3 separate regions of the Homo sapiens genome follow, and all the other regions are linked to region 3. The links are contacts of gene promoters, found by promoter capture Hi-C in blood cells and fetal thymus (Javierre and others, 2016). All regions are on one chromosome and are shown on one strand. The core of a region is centred on a gene start or on the middle of the fragment in contact, and the rest is flanking DNA. Distances in the headings are between cores, read along the strand shown. Region 1 overlaps MCM9 (minichromosome maintenance 9 homologous recombination repair factor). Region 2 overlaps MCM9 (minichromosome maintenance 9 homologous recombination repair factor). Region 3 holds the start of KPNA5 (karyopherin subunit alpha 5).

Evidence for each region. Contacts are between HindIII fragments. The CHiCAGO score rates a contact against its expected background, and 5 or more counts as called.
Region 1: a fragment that was not itself captured here is called in contact with the fragment with the promoter of KPNA5 in region 3 in 3 of 17 cell types (M1 macrophages, M2 macrophages and total CD4 T cells); the score reaches 9.0 in M1 macrophages.
Region 2: a contact is called between a fragment that was not itself captured here and the fragment with the promoter of KPNA5 in region 3, in 3 of 17 cell types (naive B cells, non-activated CD4 T cells and total CD4 T cells). The highest score is 5.7, in naive B cells.

Annotation. Positions count from the first base shown.
Region 1 is chr6:118,903,655-118,906,776 of GRCh38, forward strand. The region is part of intron 8 of MCM9 (minichromosome maintenance 9 homologous recombination repair factor); the gene reads right to left. It overlaps ASF1A (anti-silencing function 1A histone chaperone), which reads left to right. Exons shown (of 4, transcript NM_014034.3): 3 at 1,998-2,174. Among named protein-coding and RNA genes, the nearest start is that of ASF1A, 11 kb to the left of the region's middle. The HindIII fragment of the contact is 4,304 bases long and covers 1-3,122 here.
Region 2 is chr6:118,884,687-118,887,638 of GRCh38, forward strand. The region is part of intron 8 of MCM9 (minichromosome maintenance 9 homologous recombination repair factor); the gene reads right to left. Among named protein-coding and RNA genes, the nearest start is that of ASF1A, 8.0 kb to the right of the region's middle. The HindIII fragment of the contact is 1,375 bases long and covers 590-1,964 here.
Region 3 is chr6:116,679,872-116,682,823 of GRCh38, forward strand. It overlaps KPNA5 (karyopherin subunit alpha 5), which reads left to right and starts at 1,340. Exons shown (of 14, transcript NM_001366306.2): 1 at 1,340-1,467. The coding sequence starts at 1,464. RefSeq lists enhancers at 937-1,920, 1,921-2,902. The HindIII fragment of the contact is 1,991 bases long and covers 856-2,846 here.

The sequences.
Region 1 (3,122 bases), core at 276-2,775, 2.2 Mb after region 3:
AAAAAAGATTAAAAGATGAATTTTTCAGGATGTGAGCGAAGGACCTTTCAGGCCAAGGGAACAGTATGTTAGAAGCACAGGGGGTGAAGTATTTCTTTTTTAAATTTGTTTTTGTAGAGATGGGGTTTCGCCATGTGGCCCAGGATAATCTCAAATTCCTGGGCTCAAGTGATCCACCCACCTTAGCCTCCCAAAGTGCTAGGATTACAGGCGTGAGCCACCGTGCTCAGAGCGTGAAAAGATTATCACCACGTTTTAAAGAACCTGTGTGATTCATATCTCTAGAACAATGGTGGAGTTAAAGGAGGTATGAATGGAGATATTGGCTGGAGACAAACTGAGAAGGGCCTTGTCAATGAAGTTAAAGAACTGAGATTTTATCCCTTAGAAAAGGGAATACTCTTCTGAGGGTTTTAATAATCTGAGGTTTTAAAACCAAAGAGAAAGAACATATCTGTGTTAATGCTGGTAGCAGTGCAAATGATAGGCTAGAGCTGGGGAGATCAGTTAGAAAATTCTAAGCAATATTCCAGATAGGAGATGACATGAATTCAGCCTCCAGAAATGAAAAAAATGTTGAGACTGACTAGATGTAGGAGATAAGGGAGTGAAGCTGACTGAGGTTTTTAGCCTAGGACACTAGGTAGCGATTTTATGCCTTTTTGTATCATCTACCTGTGTTAGGCATACAGTAAACAACAGTCTTCAATTTTCACAAGCTAAGGCATTGGCTAAAGTGCTCATCTAGGCCCAGGAATATTCCTTGGTGCCCTGGCAACAGGTAAGCTAATTTGCTGGGACTTGATCCATTTACCACCCAGAATGGCTGCCTCAGATGCCTCAGCCATCACTGCCTGTGTTCCCCAGTCTGGCTCCTTCCATCCGGTCGTCTCATTACTACCTGCACCCTACCACGGATGGGGCCCTGCCCTTCGCTCATGCTCTTAGTCTAGTCTAACTCAGTTTACTTTCTGCATTCCTCAAGGTTCACCTTACAATAGCTTGATTTAAAACAAGGTCTTTGACATCTGCCTAAAGCAATCCTTACCTTCACTGGTTTCCACATTATGTGTGGTTTAAAGAGCATACTATATTGTAGAGTCTAGCAAAGTAACTATTCATAATAGAGGATTATTAATATTTTTTGAAAATCTGCTATGTAGCTATTTCCATCTCATTTTCAGTTTTGTTTTGTTTTGTTTGAGACGGAGTCTCACTCTGTCGCCAGGCTGGAGTGCAGTAGTGCGATCTCAGCTCACTGCAACTTCCACCTCCTCGGTTCAAGTGATTCTCCTGCCTCAGCCTCCCAAGTAGCTGGGACTACAGGCACCCGCCACCATGCCCAGCTAATTTTTGTGTTTTTAATAGAGATGGGGTTTCATCATGTTGGCCAGGATGGTCTCAATCTCTTGACCTCATGATCCACCCACCTTGGCCTCCCAAAGTGCTGGGATTACAAGTGTAAGCAACCACACCCAACCTCATTTTCAGTTTTATACTAATTTACTATTAGAATACCTGTGGGGGTGGTTGAGTGGGTATGAGAATATAAGTATCCTGGGTTGAAGAGGGAAACTGGTATAATAAACATTTGTGGCCAACAGTCTATGAGGAGATCATTTAATACTTACTAATTTAGGTCTGAAAATTATGACTGAAAAGGTTAAAATCAATTGCTGACTATAAAGGTTTTATAATGAATAGTGTATAATCCTTTCATGAACCACCATGCAGTGTAGCCAGAATTTCTTCCTTTTACAAGTGTAGTCATGCTTTCAAGTATCAAGGGTCCTTACATATATTGTGGCAAAACATGAACTGTCTTTTCCAGCTTATTATAAGTCAGTCAGAAATGAGCATTTTCCTTCCCAGTATGATTTCCAAGTTTTTCTTGTTGCATCCTCAACTGATGGTTCTAGGTAACTGAAACTCCAGTCTTGCCTGCCACTAACAGCCTTTTGTGTGTGTGTGTTTCTTTTCTTTTTAATTTATTCTAGGCTGATGCACCTAATCCAGGACTCATTCCAGATGCAGATGCAGTAGGCGTAACTGTTGTGCTAATTACTTGTACCTATCGAGGACAAGAATTTATTAGAGTTGGCTATTATGTAAATAATGAATATACTGAGACAGAATTAAGGGAAAATCCACCAGTAAAACCAGACTTTTCTAAGGTAATGTTCTTACTATTCCTTTTTAACTACTTTTACTATGCAATTTTTAAAGCAGTTGCTATTGCAATTTCATAGTATACTATTAAAATGGCTTTGAGATAAAATAAATATGAGGTCCTTATGCCAACTGGGCAAACTAATTATTGTTCCATTACCATGGATGACTTCAAACCCTACCTTCAGATGAGTCATTAGTAATTAATGTAGGCAGACACCTTGAGCATTTCTGGTTTAGAAAAATGAAAGTACCTCTTTTTTTTCTGAGATGGTTTCCTGCTCTGTTGCTCAGGCTGGAGCGCAGTGGCATGATCTCGGCTCACTGCAACCTCTGCCTCCTAGGTTCAAGCGATTCTCCTGTCTCAGCCTCCCAAGTAGCTGGGACTACAGGTGTATACCAACACGCCCAGATAATTTTTGTATTTTTAGTAGAGGTGGAGTTTCACCATGTTGGCCAGGGTAGTCTCCAACTCCTGACCTCAAGTGATCTGCCTACCTTGACCTCCCAAAGTGCTGGGATTACAGGTGTGAGCCACCACGCCCAGAGAAAGTACTTCTTGTAAGACAGGCCTTTGTTTATGGCTTTCTTTATAGCATTTCCCATATTGATTATTCCCATCATGATTCTGTTCATTTCAACCTTTAGGACAAACAAATGCATTTTTGTTGTACTAATTATTCAATGATGATATTTTTGTGTGTAACTCTTCCCAAAATTATGAAAGTTTTATGTTTGTTTTTCCTATGAATACGGTTATCTCAAAACACCTATACGCTTTATCTGCTATTCTTAGAAGTTAAACTAACAGTCTTAAATATTTCTGGTACTGAAAACAGCTTAAATTCTGAGTGAGAAGCTGAAATCTAGGATTCAGCATTCTTAAAGATACTTAGTATTTTCTGATTTTTCACTGGGAACTATAACAGTTTGGTAACTGGTGATTTTGTGAG
Region 2 (2,952 bases), core at 27-2,526, 2.2 Mb after region 3:
TTAGATTCAAAGAAAGAAATGGGTTGAAAGTAAAAGGATGGAAAAACATACGTATGTAAATATCAATGAGAAAGCCGGAGTATTTATACTAATACCAGACAAAAGATTTTTAAATTTAAAAAATTATTAGCAATTAAAATGGGCATTTTAAAAGGATAAAATCATCAACTCATAAGGATAATAAAACTAGGCAGATCAACAAAGAACCCTAAGATTAAAACAATAGCCAGCTGGGCGCAGTGGCTCACACCTGTAATCCCAGCACTTTAGGAGGTCGAGGTGGGTGGATTACAAGGTCAGGAGATCGAGACCATCCTGGCTAACATGGTGAAACCCCATCTCTACTAAAAATACAAAAAATTAGCCAGGCGTGGTGGTGGGCGCCTGTAGTCCCAGCTACTCAGGAGGCTGAGGCAGGAGAACGGGGTGAACCCGGGAGGCGGAGCTTACAGTGAGCTGAGATTGCGCCGCTGCACTCCAGCATGGGAGACAGAGCACTCCAGCCTGGGAGACAGAGTGAGACTCCATCTCAAAAATGAATAAATAAATAAAAATAAAATAAAAAAGAAGATCTCAAATCAGTAATCTAAGCTTCTACGTTAAGACACTGGAAAAAAGAAGAGTAAACTAAACTATTGGCAAGCACAGGAAGGAAATAATAAATATTAAAGCAGAAATTACTGGAATAGAGAATAAAAATAGAGAAAATTAATGAAACTAAAAGTTGACAATCCTTTAGTTAGGGTGACCAAACAAAAAAGAAAGAATCAAATTAGTAAAGTCAGGAATCAAAGATGGGCATTATTATTGACTTTACAGAAGTCAAAAGGATTGTAAGGGAACAGTGTAAACAATTTTACATCAACCAATTAAGTAACTTAGATGAAACTGACAAATCCCTAGAATGATACCAACTACTGAAACTAACTCAAGGAGAAAAAACAACCTGAATAGACTATAAACACAGAGGCAATATTAGTAATAATAGTTTTTAAAACCACCCATAAAGAAAAACAACACAGATAACTTCATTAGTGAATTCCACCGAAAATTTAAAGAATCAAACACCAAATTTTCACAAACTCTTCTATAGAGAGAAAAGAGGGAGAAGCACTTCCTAATTCATTCTATAGGCAGTATTGCCCACAGACCAAAAATCAGACACAGACATCACCAGAATACTAAAGATCAATATCACTTACGAATACAGATGCAAAAATCCTCAACAAAATACTAGCAAACTAAATCTAGCATTATGTAGAAAGGATTATACACCATGACCAAGTGGAATTCACTCCAGGAATGCAAGGTTCATTTAACACCTGAAAAATCAATCAATATGGTATTCTCGTTAGTAGAATAAGGGACCAAAAAAAAAAAACAAAAAACAAAAACATGATCATCTCAATAGAAGCAGGAAAAGCATTTGACAAAATTCAATACCCTTTCATGATAAAAACATTCAACAAACTAAGAACAAAAAGGAATTTCCTCAACCTGACAAGAAGCATCTAAAAAAACCTCACAGCTAGTATCATTTTTAGTGATAAAGGACTGAAAATTTTCCCATTAAGATCAGGAACAAGACAGAGATGTTTGCTGTCACTATATCTATTCAACATTGTACTGCAGGTTATAGACAGAGAAATTGGGCCAAAAAGAAAAAAGAGAGAGAGAGAGAGAAAGAAAAAGAAACAATAGGCATCCAGAAGGAAAAGGGAGAAATAAAACTATCTCTATTTACAGATGACATGATCTTGTATACACAAAATCCTAAGAAATCCACTAGAAATTTATTGGAACTAATAAATGACCTCAGCTAGACTGACAGATACCAAAAAAAAAAATCAATTCTATGTCTACACACTTGGCAAAGAAGAATCTGAATTTAGAAAAATATTTCCATTACAATAGCATCAAAAAGAATAAAATATGTAGGAATAAATTTAATCAAGAATGTACAAAGCTTATACTATGAAAACAACAGGCCAGGTGTAGTGGCTCACGCTGTAATCTCAGCACTTCAAGAGGCTGAAGTGGGAGGGTGGCTTGAGGCCAGGAGTTTGAGACCAGCTTGGGCGACACAGTGAGACCCTAGTCTCTATGAAAAATTTCAAAAAATTAGCCGGATGTGGTGGCACACACACACACACCTGTAGTCCTAGCTACTCTGGAGGCTGACGTTGGGGGATCGCCTGAGCCCAGAAGTTCAAGGCTGCAGTGAGCTATCATTGTGCCACTGTGCTCCAGCCTAAAAAACAGAGCAAGATCCTATCTCAAAAAAAGAAAGAAGGAAAACTACAAAACATTACTCAAAGAAATTAAAGGCGAACTCATGTTTACTGATTGGAAGGCAGCATCATGAAGATGGCAGTACTCCCCAAAGGGATGTATAGATTCAATGCAATCCCTATCACAATCCCAGGTGGCTTCTTTGCAGAATTGATAGAGTGATCCTAAAATTCATATGAAAATTCAAGGGATGCAAAATAGCCAATATTGAAAAAAAAGAACAAGGTTGGAGGACTCACACTTCCTGCTTTCAAAACATACTACACAAACCTAAGGTCATCAAGACAATGTAGCAGTAGTATAAGGACACAGATCAACAGAACAGAATTGATTGTCCAGAAATAGACCCATACATTTAAGGTCAATTCATTCTGAGAAAGGTTCCAAGCCAATTCATTAGGAAAATAGTCTTTTCAACAGATGCTGCTGGGAAACTGGACAAGCACATGCAAAAGTATGAATTTGGACCCCTTCACACCATATACAAAAATTAATTCAAACTTGATCAAAGACCCAAATGTAAGGTGCTAAAAGAATAAAACTCTTAGAAGAAAACTCAGGTGTAAATCCTCATGACGCTGGATTAGGCAATGGTTTTTGAGAAATGACATCAAAAGCACAATCCAACATAACGAAAATAGATTAAATGGGCATCATCAA
Region 3 (2,952 bases), core at 90-2,589:
ACAACACACAAAAAAACTATATACTCAGTCCAGCAGCCCAAGCCACTGCTCTGCCTATGGAGTAGCCATTCTTTTGTTTCTTTACTTCTTTAATAAACTTGCTTTCACTTCACTATATGGACTCATGATTGGCAACGCTTTCTGGTAACACTGCCCAGGTTTCCTTTGTCAAGCGTGCCTTTCTCAGCCCTACATACCCACAGTTAAATAATCCCTTCTCTCCTGTTTATTTTTCAACTATTGAAAATAGCAAACATCTTAAAACAATTTGTCTTCATGTTTTTCCTCTTAAAAAATTGCAAACGTCTTCTGGGCAGGATTTATGTATTGTTTATCTTATTTATTCTCTTCCTATTGCATCTGGAACACAGTCTGTTTTCAATACCGTTTGTTGAACTCCAGGGTAGATTACAGGGCTGTGTATTATAATCTACAGTACTTTAACTGAAGTTACTCGTTTATTGGTGACTACATTGCTGTCAAAAATACACTCATGTGGCTGGGTGTGGTGGCTCATGCCTGTAATCCCAACACTTTGGGAGGCTGAGGCGGGCGGATCAGGAGGTCAAGAGATCAAGACCATCCTGGCCAACACGGTGAAACCTGGTCTCTACTAAAAATACAAAAATTAGCTGGGCGTGGTGGCGCATGCCTGTAGTCCCAGCTACTTGGGAGGCTGAGGCAGGAGAATCGCTTGAACCTGGGAGGCGGAGGTTGCAGTGAGCCGAGATCGCATCACTGCACTCCAGCCTGGTGACAGCGCCAGACTCCGTCTCAAAAAAAACCCCCCAAAAACAGAAAAACAAAAACAAAAAACCGCAGATGTTATAGAATATAAAATTATAAATGACAAAAAGCTTGAAATAAAACGAGCAGAGCATATAAAAGTTAATGAAGCTGAAGAAAACGTGAGCTTCTCCGTACACTTAACAAGGCTGCGATTTTTACCAACTTTTTTGCACTGTTGTAGCCCCAATAATGTATCTAAAATGGTACTTGACACAGTTTATATCCTTAAGAATGTATGCATGCACGCACGCGTGAAGAATGAATGAATGAGGGGTCGTCCCTTTGCACACACGGAGGTCTACGGGCCGCAGAGTACCTACAGCATGGCCACCGCAAGCGCAACTAAAATCCAGGGCTTGTCGCAGGCACAGGCTCCTCCTTCGGTGGGTGGGACGGCGGCGCGCACTTTCTCTACGCCCCACTGCTAGGATGTGCGGCCACCACTCCTCCTCCGCCGCCGCCGCCGCCGCCGCCGCCGCCGCCGCGTCGAGTGCAAGGGCTTCTGGGAGCCGAGCCTCGGGGTCTCGGAGAAGGGGCGCAGGTGGCCGCCATCTTGGATTGCGAACTGGGTCGCTACGCTTCACGCCAGGGGCGGAGTGGCGGCCCTTCTGTTACCCGCCACACACGTCGCCGCTGGGGACTGGGAAATCAGGGCATCGGAGAGTGCCACATTAATGGGTAAGTTGGAGTGAACACGGGCTAGGTTGGGGGAGCCTCGGTTTTGGTCCCTTTGGGAACTACTAGTTCCTGGGGCCACGGTTTTTATTTACCCCTTACTTTGCGAAGGTCTCTGGAACCTGGCGGTGCCGGGTGTTTCTCGTGTTTTCCCCAGGGCGACAGCGGTCGCGGGGGCGTGGCAGCCGGACCTTTCCCTTGCGGACGCGAAGGCGTGGTGAGTTCAGATTCTTTCAGCAGGTCCTCTGGAGTGATGGGCAGCTGGTCTCATCTTCGCCGCCCCGCCTCACCGTTTCTCGGTAGTTCTTTTCAGTTAATGGAATTGCCAAACGTTGCCACTCATACCTGGTACCCATCAGCTGTGTCCAGCAGCTTATGGAAATTCCACAGTGTCCAAAGAAGAGACAGGTTCCATCCCGAGGGCCTCCTAGCCTCGCCCTCTCCATCCGCCAGCCTCCCTCCTCCACCTGCGTGCAGGTGCCTCTAGTGCTCATTCCCGACGACAAGGCAAGCCTGGGTTCCACGCTTCTAATAGTCGGGCAGCTCCGTTCTAAGATGAAAACTTAGGTTTTCATCGATAATACATAGGAGATGGAAGTATTTGAAAGCTGTGAAATGACAGTGATATGTCTAAAGAATATGACATTGGCGGCGGGCGCGGTGGCTCACGCCTGTAATCCCAGCACTTTGGGAGGCGGAGGCGGGCGGATCACGAGGTCAGGAGATCGAGACCATCCTGGCTAACACGGTGAAACCTCGTCTCTACCAAAAATACAAAAAATACAAAATAAAATACAAAATAATAAATACAAAAAAAATACCAAAAATACAAAAAAAGGAAAAATTAGCCTGGCATGGTGGTGGGCGCCTGTAGTCCCAGCGACTCGGGAGGCTGAAGCAGGAGAACGGTGTGAACCCGGGCGGCGGAGCTTGCAGTGAGCCGAGAGCGCCATTGCACTCCAGCCCGGGCGACAGAGCGAGACTCTGTCTCAAAAAACAAACAAAAGAATATGACACTGGCATTTACTTTTGAGCTTTTTAGACATGTTTTTTAAAAAAGACAAAAACACTAATGATTTATCTCTCAATTACAACACCCAATAATGATGACTCATATTCTGTACAAAAGTGGTTTTCTTGGTAGGTCAGGAGCAACTCTCTCCCTCCGACCTAAGTACTGCTTGTTTGGTTGTGAGGGCTCTCTAGTTGGCACTTCCCCCGCTTTGTGCAGTCTTTTACTTTCACTAATGAGGCGCCCAGCCCCATGGAAATGAAGGCTTTACTGGCATAAGAAATAATGTCGATTGATATTAAAGAAAATCATAAGTTCAGATTCCAGTTATTTGCCCAACTTAAACATGGTTTTTCTAAGAGCCGTTGAAAGCTTATGAATGAAAAAAATTCCTCTATTCTGTAACTTTAAAGTGCTGGAATAACATTTCTAAATAAAAATATTTAATTTTTATGAGACCTCAGCCTTTGAAGTGC